Linked DNA regions of Homo sapiens: regions 1, 2, 3, 4 and 5 are each linked to region 6. Evidence: promoter capture Hi-C in 16 types of primary human blood cells and fetal thymus (Javierre and others, 2016). All regions are on one chromosome and are shown on one strand. Each heading gives the region's core, a stretch centred on a gene start or on the middle of the fragment in contact. The rest is flanking DNA. Distances are from core to core; before and after follow the strand shown. Region 1 overlaps ZNF713 (zinc finger protein 713). Region 2 overlaps ZNF713 (zinc finger protein 713). Region 3 has its middle 9.3 kb from the start of ZNF713. Region 4 overlaps ZNF713 (zinc finger protein 713). Region 5 overlaps NIPSNAP2 (nipsnap homolog 2). Region 6 holds the start of SEC61G (SEC61 translocon subunit gamma).

The links. Contacts are between HindIII fragments. The CHiCAGO score rates a contact against its expected background, and 5 or more counts as called.
Region 1: a fragment that was not itself captured here is called in contact with the fragment with the promoter of SEC61G in region 6 in 4 of 17 cell types (naive CD8 T cells, total CD4 T cells, activated CD4 T cells and 1 more); the score reaches 8.5 in naive CD8 T cells.
Region 2: a fragment that was not itself captured here is called in contact with the fragment with the promoter of SEC61G in region 6 in 4 of 17 cell types (total CD8 T cells, total B cells, total CD4 T cells and 1 more); the score reaches 7.2 in total CD8 T cells.
Region 3: a fragment that was not itself captured here is called in contact with the fragment with the promoter of SEC61G in region 6 in 10 of 17 cell types (total CD4 T cells, total B cells, naive CD8 T cells and 7 more); the score reaches 10.3 in total CD4 T cells.
Region 4: a contact is called between a fragment that was not itself captured here and the fragment with the promoter of SEC61G in region 6, in 3 of 17 cell types (naive CD8 T cells, total B cells and activated CD4 T cells). The highest score is 6.3, in naive CD8 T cells.
Region 5: a fragment that was not itself captured here is called in contact with the fragment with the promoter of SEC61G in region 6 in 1 of 17 cell types (naive CD8 T cells); the score reaches 6.7 in naive CD8 T cells.

Annotation. Positions count from the first base shown.
Region 1 is chr7:55,942,179-55,946,413 of GRCh38, forward strand. It overlaps ZNF713 (zinc finger protein 713), which reads left to right. Exons shown (of 7, transcript NM_182633.3): 7 at 1-47. Among named protein-coding and RNA genes, the nearest start is that of MRPS17, 7.6 kb to the right of the region's middle. The HindIII fragment of the contact is 2,713 bases long and covers 507-3,219 here.
Region 2 is chr7:55,898,246-55,902,491 of GRCh38, forward strand. The region is part of intron 1 of ZNF713 (zinc finger protein 713); the gene reads left to right. Among named protein-coding and RNA genes, the nearest start is that of ZNF713, 13 kb to the left of the region's middle. The HindIII fragment of the contact is 2,510 bases long and covers 2-2,511 here.
Region 3 is chr7:55,875,836-55,880,415 of GRCh38, forward strand. It overlaps the pseudogene LOC101409255. Among named protein-coding and RNA genes, the nearest start is that of ZNF713, 9.3 kb to the right of the region's middle. The HindIII fragment of the contact is 3,632 bases long and covers 1,284-4,580 here.
Region 4 is chr7:55,914,158-55,918,187 of GRCh38, forward strand. All of the region lies in intron 4 of ZNF713 (zinc finger protein 713), which reads left to right. Among named protein-coding and RNA genes, the nearest start is that of ZNF713, 29 kb to the left of the region's middle. The HindIII fragment of the contact is 178 bases long and covers 2,195-2,372 here.
Region 5 is chr7:55,989,918-55,994,061 of GRCh38, forward strand. The region is part of intron 7 of NIPSNAP2 (nipsnap homolog 2); the gene reads left to right. Among named protein-coding and RNA genes, the nearest start is that of NIPSNAP2, 27 kb to the left of the region's middle. RefSeq lists a silencer at 2,606-2,806. The HindIII fragment of the contact is 5,635 bases long and covers 1-4,068 here.
Region 6 is chr7:54,756,937-54,760,924 of GRCh38, forward strand. SEC61G (SEC61 translocon subunit gamma) reads right to left here and starts at 2,275. Exons shown (of 4, transcript NM_014302.4): 1 at 2,222-2,275; 2 at 559-658. The coding sequence starts at 652. SEC61G-DT (SEC61G divergent transcript) reads left to right here and starts at 2,377. Exons shown (of 3, transcript NR_110040.1): 1 at 2,377-2,588. RefSeq lists a silencer at 1,925-2,244 and an enhancer at 2,478-3,413. The HindIII fragment of the contact is 2,422 bases long and covers 264-2,685 here.

The DNA.
Region 1 (4,235 bases), core at 613-3,112, 1.2 Mb after region 6:
CAGGAGAGCTGCAGTGGCTTATATAAACACCTGACGAAGTAGTCTAATTGGCTTAATCATTTATTTTATTTATTGAAATATATATCTGGGCTGGGCACGGTGGCTCACATCTGTAATCCCAGCACTTTGGGAGGGCAAGGCAGGTGGATCACTTGAGGTTAGGAGTTCAAGACCAGCCTGGCCAATATGGTAAAACTGCGTCTCTACTAAAAATACAAAAATTAGCTGGGCATGATGGTGTGCACCTGTAACCCCAGCTACTCAGGAGGCTGAGGCAGAAGAATTGCTTGAACCTGGGAGGCGGAGGTTGCAGTGAGCCGAGACTGCACCACTGCACTCCAGCCTGGGCAATAGAGCGAGACTCCATCTCAAAAAAAAAAAAAAAAAAAGAGAGAAAGAAAAAAGAAATATATATCTGTAACACTTTTTTCCAAAAAGAATTCATATTAGTTTGTTTGCATTGCTATAAAGGAATACCTGAAACTGGGTAGTTTATAAAGAAAAGAAGCTTTATTTGGCTCACAGTTCTGCAGGCTGTGCAGGAAATACGGTGCTGGTGTCTGCTTCTGTTGATGGCCTCAGAACGCTTCCAATTATGGCGGAAGGTCAATGGGAGCCAGCATATTACATGACAATAGAGGGGTCAAGAGAGATGGGGGAGGTTGCAACCTCTTAAACACTCAGCTCTCACATGAACTACCAGAGTGAGAACTTGAAGGGGTGGCCTTCCCCTCCACACCCGTGAGTATTTCTAGTCAGGTGAGATGAGAGACTGAGAAAGGAAAGAAGACACAGAGACAAAGTATAGAGAAACAACAGTGGGTCCAGGGGACCGGCGCTCAGCATACCAAGGATCTGCACCGGCACTAGTCTCTGAGTTCCCTCAGTTTTTATTGATTATTATCTTCATTATTGCAGCAAAAAGGAATGTAGGAGGGCATGGTGATAATAAGGAGAAAAACATGTGAGCAATAGAATCTATGTCATAATTAAGTTCAAGGGAAGGTACTATGACTGGACGTGCACGTAAGCCAGATTTGTTTCTCTCCACCGAAACATCACAGTGGTGTAAAGAATAACAAGGCAGCATTGCTGCAAACATGTCTCGCCTCCCACCATCGGGCGGTTTTTCTCCTATCTCAGAATTGAACAAATGTACAATCCGGTTTTATACCGAGACATTCAGTTCCCAGGGGCAGGCAGGAGACAGTGGCCTTCCTCTATCTCAGCTGCAAGAGGCTCCCTCTTTTACTAATTCACCTCAGCACAGACCCTTTACGGGTGTCGGGCTGGGGGACGGTCAGGTCTTTCTCATCCCACGAGGCCGTATTTCAGACTATCACATGGGGAGAAACCTTGGACAATACCCCGCTTTCAAGGGCAGAGGTCCCTGTGGCTTTCTGCAGTGCATTGTACCCCTGGTTTATTGAGACTAGAGAATGGCAATGACTTTTACCAAGTATACTGCTTGTAAACATTTTGTTAACAAAGCACGTCCTGCACAGCACTAGATCCCTTAAACCTTGATTTCATACAACACGTTTTTGTGAGCTCCAGATTGGATCAAAGTGGTTGGGTCAAAGTGGCTGGGGCAAAGCTACAAATTAACAACATCTCAGCAAAGCAATTATTCAAAGTACAGGTCTTTTTCAAAATGGAGTCTCTTATGTCTTCCCTTTCTACATAGACACAGTAACAGTCTGATCTCTCTTTCTTTTCCCTACAAGAACTCATTCAATAACACAGGAGGACACCAAGCCATTCATGAGGGATCCACCCCCATGGCCCAAACACCTCCCACCAGGCCCCACCTCCAACATTGGGGATCACATTTCAACCTGAGATTGGAAGAGACAAATATCCAAAGTATAATATATCAGAATTTAAGGTGATTTCATTTGATTTTTATGATTGCTGCCTTGTTTGACAGAAGTCACATTTGATGTTTTTTTCTGTTTTTTGTTTGTTTTTTTGAGACAGAGTCTCGCTCTGTCACCCAGGCTGAGGTGCAGTGGCTTGATCTTGGCTTACTGCAACCTCCGCCTCCCAGGTTCAAGCAATTCTCCTGTCTCAGTCTCCCGAGTATCTGGGATTACAGGTGCGCGCCACCACGCCTGGCTAATTTTTGTATTTATAATAGAGACAGTGTTTCACTCTATTGGTCAGGCTGGTCTCGAACACCTAACCTCAGGTGATCCACCCGCCTCAGCCTCCCAAAGAGTTGAGATTACAGGTGTGAGCCACCGTGCCCGGCCCCACATTTGATGTTTTAAAGCATTCAAAATGTAAACGGTCATAAACCAGGAATAGCTGCAAGCATAGGGACACTTCAGTTTCTTGGTTTTCAGGTTTCCTCTGTCTTCTCAGGCATGGCTGAAGAAAACATAAGGTTAAGGTAGGAGTGCAGCCCACTTGCTTTCTCATCTTTCTTCTAACTTGAGCCTGGCTCAAGACTTCCCTGATTTATTCTCCCCGAGAAAGGACTAGATTTTGTAGGCCCTGAGTCAAAGCTGAAATGATTTAAGGACTTTAAAAAACAAAAACAATAAAACCCCCCCAAAAAAACTCATTTCATTGTAGAAATTAAACTTTTCAAAAGCATTTTTGTCCCATGCAACAGTAGGTATGAAATAGTTAATAAAACCTTGAGTTACTGTAATCAGGGAGGATTTCTAATAGTATTTTGTCCAAACGTGTGCAGTGGCGATGCATTTTCAGGGCAAATCAATTCTGGAAGCATCCTCACCCAAAAAAAGCCACATTTAACATTCATTTGCCATAATGAGGCAGGATATAGGGCACTCAGATTTCAGGAGGGGAGAGAGTGAGCGAAGGTGACGTCTCAGCAGAGGTATGTACTTTTTTGTTTGTTTGTTTTTTGAGACGGAGTCTCGCACTGTTGCCTGAGCTGGAATGCAATGGCACTATCTTGGCTCATTGCAATCTCCGCCTCCTGGGTTCAAGCTATTCCCCTGCCTCAGCCTCCTGATTAGCTGGGATTACAGGCGCCTGTCACCACGCCCGGCTAATTTTTTGTATTTTTAGTAGAGGGGGGGGTTTCACTATGTTGGCCAGGCTGGTCTCAAACTCCTGACCTCGTGATCTGCCTGCCCTCGGCTTCCCAAAGTGCTGGGATTATAGGCGTGAGCCACCGCACCCAGCCAAGTATGTACTTTTTAAAAGTAATGGTTAATTACACTTGGTAAAATCTTTGATCAAAGCTTAATTTTGTGGCTGGGCGCAGTGGCTCATGCCTGTAATCCCAGCACTTTGGGAGGCTGAGGCGGGCAGATCATGAGGTGAGGAGTTCGAGACCAGCCTTGCCAATATGGTGAAACTCCGTCTCTACTAAAAATACAAAAATTAGCCGGGCATGGTGGTGCGCACCTGTAGTCCCAGCTACTCGGGAGGCTGAGGCAGAAGAACTGCTTGAACCCAGGAGGCAGAGGTTGCAGTGAGCCGAGATTGTGCCACTGCACTCCAGCTTGGGTGACAGAGTGAGACTCCGTCTCAAAAAAAAAAAAAAAAAAAAAAAAGCTTACTTTTGCAACCAGGAAAAAAAAAGTATTTTGCAAAGAGTTCTAAAGGCTCCAGCACAAGGCAGTGTATCTGTATCACAGCACAGGTGAAAAACAAGAACAAGATGGAATTCTCAGAAGAGGATGAGCAGAACTTGGACATCCCAGAAAAAAGGTGTCTGGACTGAACCCGACCACAGTTGGCCAAGGACTTTCACCAATTCTTCATACATAGGAATGGTACATTAGAATCCTATTATATATTCCTTAGGGTCACAGATGATTCTGTTTATGTTAATTGTACAGTAAAATTGGTGCGGATTCATTCTCATGTTGTCCTTTGTTCTCTTCAAAATGTTCCAAGTTAAGGAGTGAAGCCTAAATATGTTCATTACATCAAAATACTGGTACCCCCAGTGTACGGGAGCCAGAGGTGTACACATTCCAGTACTTATTTGTTATGACTTGTTTCTATCTAGGAGAGCAATATATTACCCTTTCACTGTATCAGTTTCTTTGGTCCATCCAACCAGGTGTTGTTGTCCTTCTATAAGAAGAAATACTTAAGCTACACATAGTAGTAGATGACTTATTATTCAGGGTTTCTCTGACTGAAATGTCACTATAACATCAGTCATTTGACTCCTAATCCAGTAGATATAAACAGTGCCTGGAACAGTCTATTATAACACTCTGAAAACATTTGGTAAATATATG
Region 2 (4,246 bases), core at 7-2,506, 1.1 Mb after region 6:
AAGCTTTTACACGGCAAAGGAAACAATCAATAAATGAAGAGAAAAACCAAGGATTGGGAGAAAATGTTTGCAAACGATACATCTGATATGGGACTGTATTAGTCTGTTCTCACTGCTACTGAAGAACTACCTGAGACTGAGTAATTTATGAAGAAAAGAGGTTTAATTGACTCACGATTCCTGTACAGGCTGTACAGGAAGCATGACTGGGAGGCCTCAGGAAACTTACAAGCATGGCAGAAGGCCAAGGGGAAGCAAGGACCTTCTTCATATGGCAGGAGGAGAGAGTGCAAAGTGCCACATGCTTTTAAGCCATCAGATCTCGTGAGAATTCACTCATTATCGTGAGAACAGCAAGAGGGAAATCCACCCTGTGATCCAATCACCTTCCAATTCAACATGAAATTTCAGTAGGGACACAAATCCAAACCATATCAAGGACTAATATCCAAAATATATAAGGAACTCAGTAGCGAGAAAACAAGTAACCCAATTTTAAGATGGACAAATGTCCTGAATAGACATTCTCATTCACAAAAAATTAAATTCAAAATTTCCCATTTACCTCTAAAAAAAAAGACAACATACAAATGGCCATCAGAGATAATGAAAAAATGCTTATCACTGATCTTGATGGATATGCAGATTAAAACCACAATAAGAGAGCACTCACCCCTGTTAGAATGGCTTATTATCAAAAAGACAAAAGATAACAAGTATTGGTGAGAGTGTGGAGAAAAGGGAACGCTTATGCACTGTTTGTGGGAATGTAAATTAATACAGCCATCACAGCAAACTACAGGAGTTCCTCAAAAAACAAAAAATCGGCCAGGCACGGTGGTTCATGCCTGTAATCCCAGCACTTTGGGAGGCCGAGGCGGGCAGATCACAGGGTCAGGAGATGGAGACCATCCTGGCTAATACGGTGAAACCCCGTCTCTACTAAAACTACAAAAAATTAGCTGGGCATGGTGGCGGGCACCTGTAGTCCCAGCTACTTGGGAGGCTGAGGCAGGAGAATGGCGTGAACCCGGGAGGTGGAGCTTGCAGTGAGCCGAGATCGTGCCACTGTACTCCATCCAGCCTAGGTGACAGAGCGAGATTCCATCTCAAAAAAAAAAAAAAAAAAAAAAATCAAGCCAGGCACGGTGGTTTATGCCTGTAATCCCAGCACTTTGGGAGGCCGAGGGGGGGGGGGGGGTTGATCACAAGGTCAGGAGTTCAAGACCAGCCTGGCCAAGATGGCGAGACCCCATCTCTACTAAAAATACAAAAAAATTTGCCGGGTGTGGTGGCAGGCACCTGTAATCCCAGCTACTCAGGAGGCTGAGATGGAGAAATGCTTGAACCCAGGAGGCAGAGGTTGCAGTGAGCTGAGATGGCACCACTGCACTCCAGCCTGGGCAACAGAGCGAGACTCCATCTCAAAAAAATAAAAAATAAAAAAATCGAACTACCATATGATCCAGCAGTCCCACTTCTGAGTATATATTCTTTTTTTGTTTGTTTGTTTTGAGACAGAGTCTCATTCCATCAGCCAGGCTGGAGTGCAGTGGCACGATCTCAGCTCACTGCAACCTCTGTCTCCCAGGTTCAAGTGATTCTTGTGCCTCAGCCTCTTGAGCAGCTGGAATTGCAGACATGCCCCACACCACACCCGGCCAATTTTTGTATGTATAATAGAGACAGGGCTTCACCATGTTGGCCAGGCTGGTCTTGATCTCCTGATCTCAGATGATCCACCCACCTCAGCCTCCCAAAGTGCAGGGATTACAGGTGTGAGCCACCACACCAGGACCTGAGTATATATTCAAAGGAATTGAAATGGGTATGCCAAAGCGATATCTGTACTCCTATGTTTATTGCAACATTATTCACTGTAGTCAAGATATGGAAGTGACCTAGATGTCCATTGGATGAATGGATTTTAAAAATGTGGTGGCCGGGCGTGGTGGCTCACCCCTGTAATCGCAGCACTTTCTGGGAGGCCGAGGCAGGCGGATCACGAGGTCAGGAGTTTGAGATCAGCCTGACCAACATGGTGAAACCCTGTCTCTACTAAAAATACAAAAATTAGCCAGGCATGGCGGCACGTGTCTGTAATCCCATTTACTCAGAGGGCTGAGGCAGGAGAAGTGCTCGAACCCGGGAGGTGGAAGTTGCAGTGAGCCGAGATTGCACCACTGCACTCCAGCCTGGGCAACAGAGCGAGACTCCATTTCAAAAAAAAAAAATGTGGTATATATACACAATGGAATACTATTCAGCCTTCAAAAAGAGGGAAATTATATTATTCGTGACAACATAGATGAACCTGGAGGACATTGTATTAAGTGAAATAAGCCAAGCACAGAAAAACAGAAACTCTATGATCTCACTTAAAACGTGGACTCTAAAAATGTTGAACTTGTAGAGAGTAGAATGGTTGTTACTAGAATCTGGGGCTGTGTGGGAGGGGGCTAAAGAGATGTTGACCAAAGGGTACAAAGTTTTAGTGAGACAGGAGGGGTAAGCTTTAGTGATCTATTACACAGAATGATGACTAAAATAATAAAATAACAATGCATTGTTTTCTTTCTGTCTCTCTGTCTCTTTCTTTTTTTCTTTTAGAGATGGGGTTTCAACATGTTGCCCAGGCTGGTCTCGAACTCCTGACCTCAAGTGATCCACCCACCTTGGCCTCCCAAAGTGCTGGGATTACAGGCATGAGCCACTGCGTCTTGCTGATAATGCATTGTATATTTCAAAATTACTAAAAGAGTAGATTTTAAATGTTTTCACCACAAATAATTTAAAAGTATGTGAGGTGACAGATATGATAATTGGCTATTCCACAATGTGTATTAGTCTGTTTTCACGCTGCTGATAAAGACATACCCAAGACTGGGCAATTTACAAAAGAAAGAGGTTTAATGGATTTACAGTTCTGAGTGGCTGGGGAGGACTCACAATCATGGTGGAAGGCAAGGAGGAGCAAGTCACATCTTACATGGATGGCAGCAGGCAGTGAGAGAGAGAGAGAGAGCTTATGCAGAGAAACTCTAGCTTATAAAGCCATCAGTTCTCATGAGACTTATTCACTATCATGAGAACAGCATGGAAGAGACCTGCCCCCATGATTCAGTTACCTCCCACTGGGTCCCTCCCACAACATGTGGGAATTCAAGATGAGATATGGGGTGGAGACACAGCCAAACCACATCAACTATGTAAATATATATTAATGCATCACATTGTACTCTATAAATATATATAATTATTTGTCAATTAGAAATTTAAACAAATTTTTAAGTTACCAGTGTCTAGTAGTTTAATCAATCTTGACTGTATAATGCAACCTCCATAGAAACACTAAAAAAAGGAGTCTGGAGAACTTCCAGATTGGTGAACACATACAGGTGCTGGAGGTTGCCATGCCCAGAGAGGGCATGGAAGCTCTGCACCCACCAACCCTCCACCCCTTGCCCAATTTACCTCTTACATTTGGCTGTTCCTGAGTTAAGTGAACACAAAGGATTTAACCTTCATTAAACAGATCACGTGTATGATTTCACTGCAGCCATAGTGCAGCTTATTAACTCTACAGAGCAAACCTTTGTATCACTTACTAACATGACATGTAGTTTGCTGTATCAACTTATATGACAGTTACACATGTCAATATGACTGAGCACAGTGGCTCACGCCTGTAATCCCAACACTTTGGGAGGCCAAGGCAGGCAGATCACCTGAGGTAAGGAGTTCGAGACCGGCCAGTCAACATGGCAAAACCTCGTCTCTACTAAAAATACAAAAATTAGCCAGGCTTGGTGACGTGTGCCTATAATCCCAGCTGCTCAGGAGGCTGAGGCAGGAAAATCACTCAAACCTGGGAGGCAGAGGTTGCAGTGAGCTGAGGTTGCGCCACTGCACTCCAGCCTGGGTGACAGAGTGAGACTCCATCTCCAAAAAATAAAAATAAAATAAGAATGTCAATATATAAGAAGGAATAGAAAACTGATAGGATTTTACTCTTTTGCTAAAATACATTATATTGTATCTTTGAGATTGTACTAGTACAAAGTGTAATAAAACTAGATGTTTATTAAACCATTTAAATCATTGGTAAGTATACAAGAGCACTAAAGCATTTAATAGACAAAGTAATGTTAATCTATTGGTTACTTGCTCCTGCATTGTCATGCTGTTATAATTTACTTCATCACCTTGCTATTTGATACATAGTGTGAATTTCTCTTGTCATCTT
Region 3 (4,580 bases), core at 1,850-4,349, 1.1 Mb after region 6:
TTTCTTTGGGGGAGTGTTGGGGGGTTTGAGACAAGTCTTACTGAGATTATAGGCACAGGCCACCATGCCCAGCTAATTTTTGTATTTTTAGTAGCAACAGGGTCTCATCATGTTGGCCAGGGCTGGTTTCAAACTCCTGGTCTAAGGCAATCCTCCTGCCTTGGCCTCCCATAGTGCTGAAATTACAGGCATGAGCCACTACATCTGGCCTCTGTTTAGTACTTGTAATTAACATGCAATTACTGTATAACCCAGAAATTATATTCCTAGCCATCCATTTAATGTAAATGAAAGCATATGTCTACAAAAAGACTTATATAAGAATGTTAATAGCACCTTTATCAAAATAGCCTAAAACTATAAACAACATGTCCAAGAAGAGGGTGATAAACAATCTGTAGTGTATTTATTCAAAGAATACTAGTCAGCAATGGAGAAGGAGTTACTTATATATGAAACAAAGTGGATGAATCTGAAAGTCAAGATACTGAGTAGAAAAAGCCAGACACAAAATTGTCTGTACTATTTGATTTCATTCATGTGAAACTTCAGAAAAGGCAAAGCTATTCCACGGCAAGAGGAATTTGAACACCGTTTGCCATTAAGATGAGAAGGCTGACTTGAAAGGGGCCTGAAGAAACTTTCTGGATTTAAATGCTGGTAAAAGCTCATTAAATGTTGATTTTAAAAATAATGTCACACAAAGATAAAGCAAAAGTTGCCTAACAAATTACTTCTCAGAAACCCAACAGTGCTTTTTGTAATCGGTTTCTTTTTTTTCTTTTTTTTTTGAGATGGAGTTTCACTCTTTTTGCCCAGGCTGGAGTGCAGTGGCACAATCTCTGCTCACTGCAACCTCCACCTCCTGGGTTCAAGCAATTCTCCTGCCTTAACCTCTCAGGTTTTTCTTTCACATTTTCAAATGAAGATGGAGAGACCACTGAAAAACAGACTAGAAATACATCTGTCTGTGGATAACTCAGTGGTAGTAATCTGTCATAATCCTCCTGCCCTGCAGTATCAAAAAGCCCAAGAGTATATGGTTCTCCACCAATCATAACTGTGACTGCATAATTGTCAAAAACAGTCGGAACATATTCCGATGGAAATTTGTTTGTTGTGTAGGATATCTGGAGACATGTTTTACCAACAGCACCATCGCCCACAACAACACACTAATTGTCTGCATTGCTGAAATAGTTTTGTATCCACTTTAAATATTTCAAATCTGATGTTGACCTCAGCTTCTCCACGAGGGCGTTGGCAGCACTCCCTAATTTTAAAGCTTTCTACAAAGCTACAGTAATCAAAACTATGTGGCAGTGGCATATCAAAGGACAATATCAAGAAGGTGAAAAGGCAACTTACAGAATGGGTGAAAATATTTTCAAATTGTATATGCAATAAAGGTATGATATCCAAAATGTATAAATAACTCCTACAACTCAACAGCAAAAAGGAAAAATAACTAAAATGGATGAAGGACTTGAACAGACATTTTTCCAAAGAAAATATACAAACGGGAAATAAGATGCAAAGATATTCAATATTATTAGGAAACTCAAGTCAAAACCACAACTTTGTACTTACTAGGATGGCTACTGAAAAACCAAAAACAGAATATAAGTTGTGGCAAGGTGGTGAAACTGGAACACATACATTGCTGGCGGGGGTTGCGGCTGCTCTGAAAAACAGTGTGGCCATTCCTCAAAAGGCAAACAGGCCGGTTGCAGTGGTTCAAACCTGTCATCCCAGCATTTTGGGAAGCCGAGGTGAAAAAGTTAATTTTATTAAAGATTGTCCCCATTTTAAATAACACACAAAGTTTCAAAGTAAGAAACTAAACTCGTTATGGTTCATCTAGATATTAGTTTTTATAAAAATCATTTTAATTTTTCTATTACAGTCCTGCAGCAGAACAGTTCTTCCCTGAATACGAGAACCCAGAAAGGTACATTTTTATTTTCAACGTTCTGATATTAGTACAATTTGGACCCAAAAGTAATATGGTTATTCTGAACTTTTCACAACATAAATAACAAAATCATTGTAGAGAACATGTGTTTATTTTTCATGTGTGTAATCTTGCTTGCTGGGACCCAAACTGATCTCAAGAGATGATCCCTCTACTATTGAGAAACTTTCCAAGAACAAACAGAAGCCTATCACTCCAGAGACTGCTGAAAAGCTGGCCCATGACCTGAAGATTGTCAAGTATGTGGAGTGTTCTGCACTCACACAGAAAGGCCTAAAGAATGTATTTGACGAAGCAACATTGGCTGCGCTGGAGCCTCCAGAATCGAAGAAGAGCCACAGGTGTGTGCTGCTATGAACATCTCTCCAGAGCCCTTTCTGCATAGCTGGTGTCAGCATCACACTAAAAGCAATGTTTAAATCAAACTGAAGATTAAAAATTAAAATTCATTTTTGCAATAATGACAAATGCCCTGCACCTACGCAAATGCACTCATGTGAGACAGGCCCATAGGTATGGCCCCCCTTCCCCCTCCCAGGACTAGTTAATTTTGAGTAATAGTGTATTGTCAGAAAAGTGATTAGTACTAGTTTTTGTTTTGTTTCAAAAAATTTTTTTGTTATTGTTTAAAAGCAAGGCATGGGCCGGGCGCAGTGGCTCACACCTGTAATCCCAGCAGTTTGGGAAGCTGAGGCGGGCAGATCATGAAGTCAGGAGGTTGAGACCATTCTGGCTAACACGGTGAAACCCCGTCTCTGCTAAAAATACAAAAAATTAGCTGGGCTTGGTGGCGGGCACCTATAGTCCCGCTACTCGGGAGACTGAGGCAGGAGAATCACTTGAACCCTGGAGGTGGAGGTTGCAGTGAGCCGAGATTGCACCATTGCACTCCAGCCTAGGTGACAGAGCAAGACTGTTTCAAATTTAAAAAAACAGCAAGGCATGCTTGTGGATGACTCTGTAACAAACTAATTGCAATTGTTGAAGCCGCTCCCTGGTTCCACTCTGGAGAGTAATCTGGCACATCTTAGTGTTGTTGGTTTTTTTCTCCTCTTTTGGGGGGAGTGTGTGTGGGGTTTGTTTCTCAGTCTTGTTTTTTTAATTCATTAACCAGTGGTTAGCCCTTAAGCGGAGGAGGATGGATTGATTCCACATTCCACTTCCTAGATCTAGTTGAGAAAACATGTTCCCCATCTGGCGCTCCTAGGAAGGAGTATAGTAAATGCCTCATTTAATAACATACTCCTTTTTGAAAGTTGCCTTTTCTCTCCACCCTAGAGTAGATCCAGTATTTGATGAAACTCATGAAAGTGGGTGGAGCCTGTCTTGCCCCTCCTCTTTTCTAGGACGCACTGTATGTGACTGACTTTCAAGGACATTTGTTTGCCACTTGCTGATTTTTTGGGGAAGTTAATTTCTAACTTCTTTCACTAATAAATGAAGAAAAGTATTGCACCTTTGAAATACACCGAATGAATTGAGTTTGTAATTAAAAATTTTTTTCCTGTCAGTCATTGTCTTATATGCTTAGCATAGATTTGCAACTCAGTAGTATATGGTGTTCCTAGAACGCAGCTGAAGAACTGGTATGTAGAGGAAATATGAGGGGTGGGTGGTGCTAGAAGACAGACATCTGTGGAATGATTCACATCCTCTCAGGTTAGGAGGATGGAGGCCTGCTTCATTAAGAAGCTGGGCGTAGGGTGGGGGTGGGGAGAACACTTAACAACATGGGGGCCAGTCAGGGGAATCCTCTTATTTCTGTTTTGCATATGAGGAACCCTAGAGCAGCCAGATGAGGCTCTCTAGTTTAATAAAAATCATGGAAAGCCTCTTTTTTTTTTTTGACACGGAGTCTTGCACTGTCGCCCAGGCTGGAGTGCAGTGGCACGATCTCAGCTCACTGCAACCTCTGCCGACTGGGTTCACACTATTCTCCTGCCTCAACCTCCCGAGTAGCTGGGACTACAGGTGCCCACCACCACGCCCGGCTAATTTTTTGTGTTTTTAGTAGAGATGGGGTTTCACCGTGTTAACCAGGATGGTCTCGATCTCCTGACCTCGTGATCCGCCTGCCTCGGCCTCCCAAAGTGCTGGGATTACAGGTGTGAGCCACTGCGCCTGGCTTTTTTTTTTGAGACAGAGTTTCACTCTTGTTGCCCAGGCTGGAGTGCAGTGGCGCGATGTCACCTCACCGCAACCTCTGCCTCCCGGGTTCAAGCAATCCTCCTGCCTCAGCCTCCCGAGTAGCTGGGACTACAGGTGCCCACCACCACGCCCGCCTAATTTTTTGTGTTTTTAGTAGAGATGGGGTTTCACCGTGTTAACCAGGATGGTCTCGATCTCCTGACCTTGTGATCCGCCTGCCTCGGCCTCCCAAAGTGCTGGGATTACAGGTGTGAGCCACCGCGCCTGGCTTTTTTTTTTGAGACAGAGTTTCACTGTTGTTGCCCAGGCTGGAGTGCAGTGGCGCGATGTCACCTCACCGCAACCTCTGCCTCCTGGGTTCAAGCAATCCTCCTGCCTCAGCCTCCCGAGTAGCTGGGATTACAGGCATGCACCACCACGCCCGACTAATTTTGTATTTTTACTAGAGACGGGGTTT
Region 4 (4,030 bases), core at 1,034-3,533, 1.2 Mb after region 6:
AATGAATGCACATTTATATATTTTAAATTAAAATAAAATATTTAAGATCTCTTTTATGGATCGCTAGTTTAGCCATCTTTTTTGCTTAACACATCAGATACCGGTCTCAATTGCTTCAGATAGGATTTCTATCATTCCAATTATATGTGATAATCATTATCCTTATGTAGCCAATAAACTCATTGAAGGGGATTTTTTTGGTTTGTTTTTTGTTTTTTGTAGAGACAAGGTTTCACTATGTTGCCCAAGCTGTTCTCAAACTCCTGGGCTCAAGCCATCCTCCCACCTCTCCCTGCCGAAGTGCTGGGATTGCAGGTGTGAGCCACCACACACAGCGTGGGGGGCTTGTTAAAATCCACATCACACAACTAATATTCAGAAATGCATAATGTTGGATGCTGCTGTGAATGCAAAAGACAACAAATACAACAGGTGCTGGGAGAAGGGAGAAGTCTGATTGAGACTGTAGGGATGAGGGAAGACTTCATGAAAAAGGCAGAGTTTGAATTTGTGTTGATACCAGCAGGTAGGGTTTGGAGATTAGAGAAAACGGGGGACCATTGCAGACAGGAAATAAAACTTGAGCAAGAGCAGGGACAATAAGGAGACTGTCAGCTAGAGCTGAGCTTTTATTTGGTGTATATTAGTGCTTTGGGATCTTTGGGTTTCAAGGGATAGATTCATTTGGTTTATTTTATTTTATTTTATTTTTTTTGAGACAGAGACTTACTGTGTCACCCAGGCTGGAGTGCAGTGGCACAATCTCGGCTCACTACAACCTCCGCCTCCCGGGTTCAAGTGATTCTCCTGCCTCAGCCTCCCAAGTAGCTGGGACTACAGGCATGCGCCACCACGCCCAGCTAATTTTTGTATTTTTAGTAGAGACGGGGTTTCACCATGTTGGCCAGGCTAGTCCGCCCCCATCAGCCTCCCAAAGTATTGGGATTATAGGCGTGAGCCGCCGCACCTGGCCCATTTGGTTTATTCTTAATTAACTGTAAGACTCCCCAAAGACAGGAATAGAAAGACATCTAGAAATAAGTGGCATGTCTGCTTTTCCACATTCTAGCCCAAGGAGTTAGTTTTAATTTTCTGGAACCATTTATTATGTTTAGAAGGAAGATGATTCATTCACTCAATAAATATTTTTTGAGTAGCTAGTATGTGACAAGTTTTTTTTCTTTTCCTTTTTTCTTCTTATGGTCTACTGGTCATTTCATATGTGACAAAAATTATGCTTTTTATCAGCTAGACATCACTGAGAAAAATAGACATGACCCCAAACCCAAGGAGCTTATTGAAAGACATTTAGCAACTATACTAATAAATTGCAAAAGAGATGTGTTTTAAACAAAATGAAAACAGGGTGCTATGAATACACATTAGGGAATCAGGGAGAAACTGTGGGGAAGTGAAATTTAAGATGAGAAAGAAAAGATAAGTAGAACCTACGAAAAGTAAGTGGAAAAGAGCATTTTGGACATGTGCTAAAAATCATCTGCAAAAATCACGGGTATATTTGAGAAATTAAAAGAAGACCACTGTGGTTGGTGTGGAAGGAGGGAGAGAATGACTTGAAGTGAGCTTGGAGAAGTGAGCAGGTCTTAAATACACAAAGCCTGTGGCCATGAAAACAGGTCTGACTTTTACTCTGAGTGCAGTGGAAAGCCTTTGGGGGAATTTAAGCAGAAAGATAACATAATAAGTAATCCAATTCTACATTAAAAATCATCCTGGTGCTATATACTAACTGAATTTGTGAGAGGCAGAGGTTGAAAGGAGAAAAACCAGTTAAGCTACTGTAGCATTCTCAGTGATAGAAAATAGCATAAAACTAGTCATTGGAGGAAAGGAGGGAGATTTGAGTGCTTTCCTTTGGAAACAGCAGAGATTAGCTAAGGGGTAAAAGCAAAGGAAGAAAAAAGATGACTTCAAAGAGTGGAACCCAGGAAATGGCACTATTGGTAATGGTAAATCAGATCATGTCATTCCTCTGCTCAAAGCGCATGGCTCCCATTTCACTCAGAGTAAAACCCAAAGTCCTTAAGATGGCCTAAACAGTCCTATAGAATCTGGCCTGTTACCTGTCGAATTTCATCATTTACTTTTCTTCCCCTTATTCCATTCTAGCCATCCTGGCCTCATTCTTCTTCCTTAAACATGGCCCTGGGGCCTTTGCACTGTTAACCTGTCAAGCTTCTTTCTCAAATGTCACCTCTCCAGTGCCATCTTTCCTGACCACGCTATTTAAATTTGTAACTGCCCCACACCCATATTCTTGAACCCTTACACTACTTTACTTTTATCTTCTGACATACTATATAATTTACCCAGTTATGCTGTTTGTTGTCTACTTTCTTTCCTAGAATATAAGCTTCATAAAGGCAGGGAGTTTTTGTCTCTTTTATTCACTGGTACATCCCAAGCACCATGCCTGGCATATATATAGGAAGCACTGAATAACCATTCATTAAACACATGGGGAATTTAGCATATGATAAAGGTAACATCTCAAACCAGTGATAAAAAGCTGCTTTGTTCAATAATTGATGTTGGGATTTCTGGGAAACCATCTGGAAAAAGATAAAGTTGGATCTGTACCTCATACTTCACATCAGAATAGTCTTCAAATGGATCAAATATTTAAATATGAAAAATGAAACCACAAAAAGTTATGCAAGAAAAAAATGGGAGAATTCCTTTATAACTTTCACCAAAGAAAAACTTTCTAATCACAGTGATTGATGGGTTCAACTCATTAAAAACACCAAAAGCGGCCGGGCGCAGTGGCTCACACCTGTAATCCCAGCACTTTGGGAGGCCTAGGTGGGCAGATCACAAGGTCAGGAGATTGAGACCATCCTGGCTAACACGGTGAAACCCCGTCTCTACTAAAAATATAAAAAATTAGCCAGGCATAGTGGTGGGCGCCTGTAGTCCCAGCTTCTTGGGAGGCTGAGGCAGGAGAATGGCGTGAACCCGGGAGGCGGAGCTTGCAGTGAGCCGAGATTGCGCCACTGCACTCCAGCCTGGGCGACAGAGCAAGACTCTGCCTCAAAACAAACAAACAAACAAACAAAAAACACCAAAAGCATCTGCATGGAAAAAAAAAAACAACAAACTATAAGCAAAGTAAAAAGACATGTCAAGTTGAAAAAAATATTTTGCCACTCGAATTACAGTGGTCTCATCTTTCTAATATATAAAATACTTCTCTAAATCAGCAAGAGATTAGGAGTCCAACAGAAAAAGGTACAAAAGGCCAGGGACAGTGGCTCATGCCTGTAATCCCAGCACTTTGGGAGGCTGAGGCAGGCTGATCACTTGAGGTCAGGAGTTTGAGACAAGTGTGACCAACTTGGTGCAACTTCATCTCTACCAAAAATACAAAAATTAGCTGGGGGACTAGTGGTGGTGTGCACCTGTAGTCCCAGCTATACAGTAGGCTGAGGTCAGAGGATCACTTGAGCCCAGAAGGTGAAGATTGCAGTAAGCCATGTTTGCACCACTGCACTCCAGCCTGGGTGACAGAGTGAGACCCTGTCTCAAAAAAAAAAAAAGAAAAAAAATTTTAAAGACAGTTCACAGCAAATAAAGTTCAAATGGATCTTAAACACAGGAAAAGTGTTCATCTGTACTGCAAACAAGAGGAAATTTGTGTTAAAACTAGAGAAAGCTGGATATTTTATCACCAAGCTTGATATTTGCCATGAGTTTGATATTTTCCACAAGTATAACATATTCTGTTGGCAAAGCTGTGGGGAAACAGACACTCTTACACTGCTGGTGTGAATGTGACAGATTGCATTTTCAGAAAAATGGCCAAAATACCTCCCATCCCAAATGCTTTCTTGCAAGTGACTTTGACACTCATCCCATTATAGATGTGGAGATCTGTGTGCTCTCCATTGGATCTCGGCAAGGCTGTGACTGGAGGATGCAAAGCTTTGTGACTTTCAAGGCAGATCATAAATGGCAGTAAGACTTCTACCTCATTCTGTTGGGATGCTTACTCTAAACCCGACCACCT
Region 5 (4,144 bases), core at 1-2,500, 1.2 Mb after region 6:
CCAACATGGTGAAACCCTGTCTACTAAAAATCCAAAAAAAAAAAAAAAAAATTAGCTGGGTGTGGTGGCGAGCACCTGTAGTCCCAGCTACTCAGGAGATGGAGGCTGCAGTGAGCCAAAATGGCACTACTGCACTCCAGCCTGGGCGACAGAGTGAGACTCCATCTCAGAATATATATATAATTTTGAAACATTGGGATAGTTTCCTAAAATAATCTGAAGCATACATCTATATCTAATTCAACAAAAGATTTATAGCATTTTTTTTCTTTGAAACTTAACATATTTCTGTACCTTAATTTTTGTTTCTTTTCTTTTTTTTTTTTTTTGAGACGGAGTCTTGCTCTGTTGCCCAGGCTGGAGTGCAGTGGTGCGAACTCGGCTCACTGCAAGCTCCGCCTCCCAGGTTCACGCCATTCTCCTGCCTCAGCCTCCTGAGTAGCTGGGACTACAGGCACCAGCCATCACACCCGGCTAATTTTTTGTGTGTTTTTTAGTAGAGACGGGGTTTCACTGTGTTAGCCAGGATGGCCTCGATCTCCTGACCTCATGATCCGCCTGCCTCGGCCTCCCGAAGTGCTGGGATTACAGGCATGAGCCACCGTGCCTAGCCTGTTTTTTGTTTTTAGGGGGAGATGTGTGTGTTTATTTCTTTGAAGTAATTATGTTAACTCTTACTTTTCTTTGGCAGCTTGCTATTTCTGTTTCCTAAGCTGGCATTTCATAACTATTTACCCACAAAGGGGGAGGCCACATGGTGCTGAGAAAAAGCTCTGGGTTTGAGTTACTTGACAGCTCTCACCTTGAAAAGAGAACTTGTACCTTTTTGCCTTTTTTTTTAACTTCAACTTATATCTTTTCTTTTTTCTTTTTCTTTTTTTTTTTTTTGAGACGGAGTCTTGCTCTGTTGCCCAGGCTGGAGTGCAGTGGCGCAGTCTCGGCTCACTCCAATCTCTGCCTCCTGGGTTCAAGCGATTAGCCTGCCTCAGCCTCCCAAGTAGTTGGGATTACAGGCGTGCACCGCCACACCTGGCTAATATGTTTTGTATTTTTAGTAGAGACAGAGTTTCGCCATGTTGGCCAGGCTGATCTCGAACTTCTGACTTCAAGTGATCTGCCTGCCTCAGCATCCCAAAGTGCTGGGATTACAGGTGTGAGCCACCGCGCTCGGCCCCAGTTTTTCTCTTTTTTCGGTTATGAAATTTCCTGCTGTGCATGAAATAATTTCTAAGATCCCTTCTGTCTCCAACAAATAGTTCTGTGATCTTTATTTCTAATGAACCTTTCCTCCTTAGATCATCAAAGGCTAAATAATGGAAGTTAGAATTTCTTTTCATTTGAAAACTAAGAAATACATATTTGGTTGTATGCTACTATTATATACAATTTTTGTTCTTTTGTTTTTGGACTATTGTTGTTAATCATGTAGCTACTCACGGAATAGGATTACTCACTAGTTCAATTTTTGCCCATTACTGATCAAGACTCGCTCGCCGTGGAATCCACAGGGACATACTGGGGTTATTCAGTTATTTAAAAAATTATTTGACCAGGCGCGGTGGCTCACACCTGTAATCCCAGCACATTGGAAGGCCAAGATGGGCAGATCACCTGAGGTCAGAAGTTCGAGACCAGCCTGACCAACATGGAGAAACCCTGTCTGTACTAAAAATAACAAAAATTAGCCAAGTGTGGTGGTGCATGCCTGTAATCCCAGCTACTCGGAAGGCTGAGGCAAGAGAATTACTTGAACCCATGAGGCAGAGGTTGTGGCAAGCCAAGATCGCACCATTGTACTCCACCGTGGGCAACAAGAGTGAAACTCTGTCTCAAAAAAAAAAAAAAAAAATATATATATATATATAATTTATAAAGCCAGTTTAGCATTCAATTTATATTTTGGCACATAGGTAACTAAGATGGTGACCACCTCGTCTGTACAGGCTTCTGATTGTTACCAGGCTAAGGCAAGTATGTTTTGTTTGCCTACCATAACTAAATTACAAAAATTCAGAATGAAATGAATAATCTGGAATATTTATCACTATCAATGAAAGCCAGGTTTTTTTCTTCTGAATAGAGTTAGAATGCACATTGAAGTGATTTGCTTAATTTCAATAATCAGATTTATAATTTCTGTGAAGATATTGATCACTTAATTCTCAATGTAAAGATTAAAGATGTCATCTTATTTGTGGATAATCCATGGGGGCAATAGCAAGAAGTCCCTTTTTCACCATAAAGGAACCCAAGCGCTTGGGTAAGGTTCCCATCATGGCACTGAGCCCATGGTGGATTAGAGCAGAGGTGTAGAGTGATTTTAAGGAGACTGGATTGCTTGAGCCCAGGAGTTCGAGACCAGCCCAAGCAACATAGCAAGGCCCCATCTCAACAACAACAAAAACATAATAAAAAATAAAAAATTGGCTGTGCTTAGTGGTGCAAGCCTGTAGTTCCAGCTACTCAGGAGGCCGGGGCAGGAGGCTCCCTCGAGCCCAAGAGTTCCAGACTGCAGTCAGCTAAGATCATGCCACTGTACTCCGGCCTGGGTGACAGAGTGAGTCTCTGTCTTAAAAAAGGAGATTGGCTTAGTCACTCACAGGAAATCACTCTTGGATTTTTTTCCCCCTTTTGAGATGTTATCATTCAGTATATATGAAGTTTGCCTCCAGGAAGAGAATGCTCAGCCAAGCCAACTCAAGCATCTTGTGCCTTGAGAGTGACATCTTTCACTGTCATTGTTAGTAGGTTGCTATCCTTGTTTATATGCTGCCAGCTCTTTTGAATGAATTAGAGTGAATCTGTCTTCCCAAGTCTTGTCACCTGTGGGACCCTGATATGACTGAGACTTCAGGCCAGAGCCTGGGCAGTGTGGTATGGATTTACTGGGTAATGCATGGTGTGTCATCTCCTGATAGACCTTAACCATGTGTCTTCTGGTGACCTCCCTATGTCATTTGAAGCCCCTTCCTTTTCACCTTTGATTCTAGAAGACTGCTTTTGAAAAAATGGGCACATTTTAAAACATTTTTAGGAATTCAGATGCATCACTAAATATTTTTTTTTTAAGTGGTGCAAGTATGAAAGGAAAGGGCTCTGAGCCAGGCGCAGTGGCTCACACCTGTAATCCAAGCACTTAGGGAGGCTGGGGTGGACAGATCACTTGAGGTCAGGAGTTCAAGACCAGCCTGGCCAATGTGGTGAAATCCCATCTCTACTAAAAATACAAAAATTAGCCAGGCGTGGTGGTGCACACCTGTAATCCCAGCTACACAGGAAGCTGAGGCAGGAGAATAGCTTAAACCTGGGAGGCAGAGGTTGCAGTGAGCCGAGATCCCGCCACTGCACTCCTGAGTGGCAGAGTAAGACTCCGTCTAAAAAAAAAAAAGGGCTGTAGGCTGGCCTGGTGGCTCATGCCTGTAATCCCAGCAGTTTGGGAGGCCGAAGCGGGGCAGATCGAGACCAGCCTGGCCAACATGGCGAAACCTCATGCCTACCAAAAATACAAAAAATTAGCCAGACGTGGTGGTGGGCGCCTGTAATCCCAGCTACTCGGGAGGTTGAGGCAGGAAAATCGCTTGAACCCAGAAGGTGGAGGTTGCAGTGAGCCAAGATCGTACCATTGCATTCCAGCCTGGGCAACAGCGAGACTCCATCTAAAAAAAAAAAAAAAAAAGCCGAGCGTGATGTCATGTGCCCATAACCCCAACTACTCAGGAGGCTGAGACACGAGAATAACTTGAACCCAGGAGATGGAGATTGCAGTAAGCTGAGATCACGCCGCTGCACTCCAGCCTGGGAGACAGAGGAAGACTGTTTCAAAAAAAATTAAAGAGCTGATACCTTTTGCAGTGGGAAATTCTTAAAGTTTTAAGCCAAGTGCCTATTTTTAACTGATCATAGTGTGATGTCCACAGAGGCACAATGTATATTAGTACTTTCTTCCATATTTGGTACATAATGAATGCCTTTGGTACTCATTTTCTGAATGGTTTGCTCTAGTAGGAAAGAAAAAAAAAAAAAGCAAGAGGCAGCTTTGCCTGCACTACTGAGGCTGTACCACCAGAAAGCTTCATTCCCATGGTTCCTCTGTATGGCATCCAAGAAGTTGCAGAGTCCCTTGTGTAGTTCAGAGAGCAGGGGT
Region 6 (3,988 bases), core at 1,025-3,524:
ATATACTATACTATATATATACTATATACTATATATACTATATACTATATACTATATTATATACTATATACTATATTATATACATGTTATATTCTCTATTATATTACCAGCTCCTAACTCAATGAATGAATAAAAGTAGACAAATTTAACACATGAATCATGATAAATAACAAAATTAACTTTCTAGTTTGGCAAAAACTATATTGTTGGTTTCATGTTAAGGTTTTGTTCGTTGGGGTGGGAGCTGAGTAGGGAGACTTCAAAGCTTTTCCAAAGAGAAAATATGTAAGATACTAAAAGTCATAAAATGTTACTAACTAAAATGTTACATGGAACATAAGGCTGTAATAAATAATCTTACACCATTTGAAAATACATAAAAATTTAGACGAGTAAAAAATTTAGGAAGAAGTGACAACGTTAAAAAGCTGTCGCGCAGGATCAATCAATAAAAATGTTGATCAAAGTAATGCAAGGGCTATTAATCAAGATGTTAATCAAACAAAAGGCTTAGAAAATGCAAAGATTTAATTTTTTCTCTCATAGTCAAGCAATTACCTTTTCTATCAGGTTTAGTGCATCTTTTAACCAGCCGAATGGAGTCCTTTACAAACTGCCGACTTGGCTCAACAAACTGCATTACCTGATCCATGACTGCCTGTTTAAAACAAAAAAGATACTCACTGGTATTGGTTCTCATACAATAAGCACTTGCTCATTTATATAAAGATGTAAATGAGACCAGCCACTGAATTCACGTCTAACATGGGTCAATTCCACCTCCTAAAATAAAACAAAAAACAAACTCCAAAGCCTAAATTGATATTATTTTTGGAAATTTCAGTTAATTATCAAAGGCAATAAGAAAAGCACAGATCTTACTCATGATATCTTCACTGACAAAGAACAGCACACGCAATATAAAAAGCCTATCTCTATTAAAAGGTTAAAAAAGGTTACGCAATTGGTAACACATCCATTCCTTTTCTCACTCTGCAGTCCCATCCATTTCTCATTCTACAGTCCCCTCACCGCTCCTAAGGAACCATCAGTGTTGAGATCCAACAATTACTTTCCATATTTTATTTTAAACTACGCAGAAGCCAGTGTCTTGTACAGTGAATGCCAACTACGGTGCTGCAAGAGCCTAGAATAGAGGCAAACGTGAATTTCAACCTTGATTTTTCTAAAACGTGCCAATACAACATACTTTTCTAAAGTATAAAGAATGGCTAAAGGAAGACGCAAATTCTGAGAAGCTACTAGCTAAATTTCAAACTTTTCGATTTGAACACATCTTTTAAGGAAACAGGGCTATATATTTTACCATACAGGTTCTTTTGAGGAATCTATTACCCAATAGAAATGTTATCCGATCTTAGCTTTGAGAGCCACTGCTATAGTAAGTAAAGCAGCCAGGGTGTTATTTGTATTTTCCTCCATTTCCAGTACTCAGAACAGTGGCCAGGTGGTAGTTCAAATCACTGGCTATGGAATGTAAACCTCTGTAAGCCCCAGTTGCCTTCCTTAGTGTAGGGTGTGGACAACGAAATGAAATAATGTCAATGAAACACCAGGAATTCTGCAACGTTCTGGGGGCAAAAACACAGTAATGTCTGTTTTCTCAGTATTTCACTCAACTTTGCTCTTGAAATCCAAAGGGCTTAAACTTTTTGTAATCATAGTTGTCACGAAGGAAGCTAAGAATTCTTTATCCAGAAAAACGCACGCTACACACAATACCGCACTCAATGTCAGGGGTAGAGATCCAAAAACCAACTATGATCTCTCGAACTAGACTCTAGACCAATGCTCTCACTTTAAACCACGGAAGCGGCGGCAGGACCAGAGCTGAGTACAGCTCTTCCCAGACAGGACTCCACAACAGCACACAGAGCCAACCCCGAAGGGATCGGGCAGCAGGACATCATCTTTGGCTGCAGCACAGAAGACGCCGGGGCAGGACGCTAAGCCCTGGAGCCCCGCGGGCCGGCCACCCAGCTCGCCGGGAGTCCGCGGCCCTGGGTCTGCCTTCCGCCAGAGGCCGAGTTGGTGGGATGTCGGCGGCCAGACCCCGGCCCTGAGCCAGGGGACCACTTACCGCCCGCCCCGCGACGGCCGCCCGGGGAGACACGCCGGCTCGCCCACGCCCGCTGCCCCCAAGAGTCGCAAAGGTGTGGCCGCCCCGTTCGCCCGTACCGACCGGTGGGAAGAAACTCACCTACCCAACCGACACCTAAAATGCCAGGGACACGTAGCACTGGAGCTTGCTGATGGAGGCCCACCGGAACCGGAATCCGGGTTTCTGCCAACAGCCCGCCCACTCCTCCGTCCTATTGGTTCCTTACGCGAAACCTCAGTGCGCAAGCGCAGCGCGACGTGCGCCCGGCCACGCTTCCTGGAAGAGATGCATTGCGGAGCTCGCTAGTTGGGGCGTTGGCCTTCCTTAGGAGTGTGAGTCTAGCGTTATCCCTTTTTTCCGGCTGGATCCCGGGTTACCCCACCAGCCCGACCTCAACCCACTCACGTCCACAGCACGAGCCCCAGCGGCCTTGCGCGGTGCTTGCTCTCTAGTAGCGGCTGACTAGGTAAATCCTAAGTTGTGGTTTTTTTTCCTGCGGTCCAGCTTGATGTGTGTCCTTACGGTACATACTTTTTGTATGTATATAATGTTGGTCGAAATGAAGCTTATGAGCAATATAATGTTATGGCCTAATTCAAAATAGTATCCCCACCCCAAACTTTGACTTTGGCTGTCATTCACGGTAATGAATGCCGCTGTAATTGAGGCCTTTGTCAAACGCTAGGTTTGGTTACGGGAGTGGTCATAATGTACACACAGCTCCCCACTTACCCACAAGGATGCATTCCAGGAACCCCCCGCCGGATGGCTGAAACCGTCAGTAGAGACGGGGTTTCACCATATTGGCCAGGCTGGTCTTGAACTCCTGACCTCGCGATCCACCCGCCTCGGCCTCCCAAAGTGCTGGGATTACAGACGTGAGCCACCGCGCCCGGCCATGTTTCCTTTTAGCAATGGAGCATAACGGGATCTGAGGAACAATATAACTCAGGAAGAGCTGATGGAACATTAAGACGTGTTACAACTCTCAGTGCTTCTTAAACTTCTTCAGTAACTGAAATCTCCTGTTAAGTTTTTTAGTAAATGAAATTTGTAACCCCAGAACCTCCAGATATTGATTCAGTGGGTCAGGGTTAGAGGTCACACACCTCCGTATATCTGACTGTAGGTGGTCCATACACACTACACATACCTTGCCTTAGCTTTAAGAGTCACTTTTAAATTCTGAACAGACTGAGATGCGTTTGACTAGTTCTTCATCCCTGGGACTTCAGCCCATGTGTCATCTCCTTAGAGGCCTATAGTGACCATCTAAGGCAATCCTGTCTATCTCATGCTCTTTTTTCCTTTTTCACAATACCTTCTTCATTTGCTGCATAGCATTTGTATTAACATTTATTTATTTATTCCTCGGTCTGTCTCCCTACACTGTAAATCCCCTTACTAGACCATAAGCTCCAAGTGGGTATAATATAGCATCTAGTAAAGTGCTAAACACAGTAAATGCTCAATAAATAATTTTCAAAAAAATAATTCATTCCAAAAAAACATAAAATCACATGTTGGCAAGTTCACCCCAACCACCAAATGTCTGAGTTGACAGTATTTTCAGCAAAACACAGAAAATCAAGTAACACATACAGTGGTTCCCCTTATCCAAGAAAATCTGGTTCAAAAAGAGATGTGTACCAGAAGGTAATCTGGGAGAGGCCACATTCAAATAACTTTCATTACAGTGTATTGTTATAATTGTCTACTCACCTGATTTCGGGAGTTTGAGACCAGCCAGACCAACGTGGAGAAACCCCGTCTCCACTAAAAATACAAAAATTAGTCTGGAATGGTGTCGCATGCCTGTAACCCTAGCTACTCAGGAGGCTGAGGCAAGAGAATCCCTTGAACCCG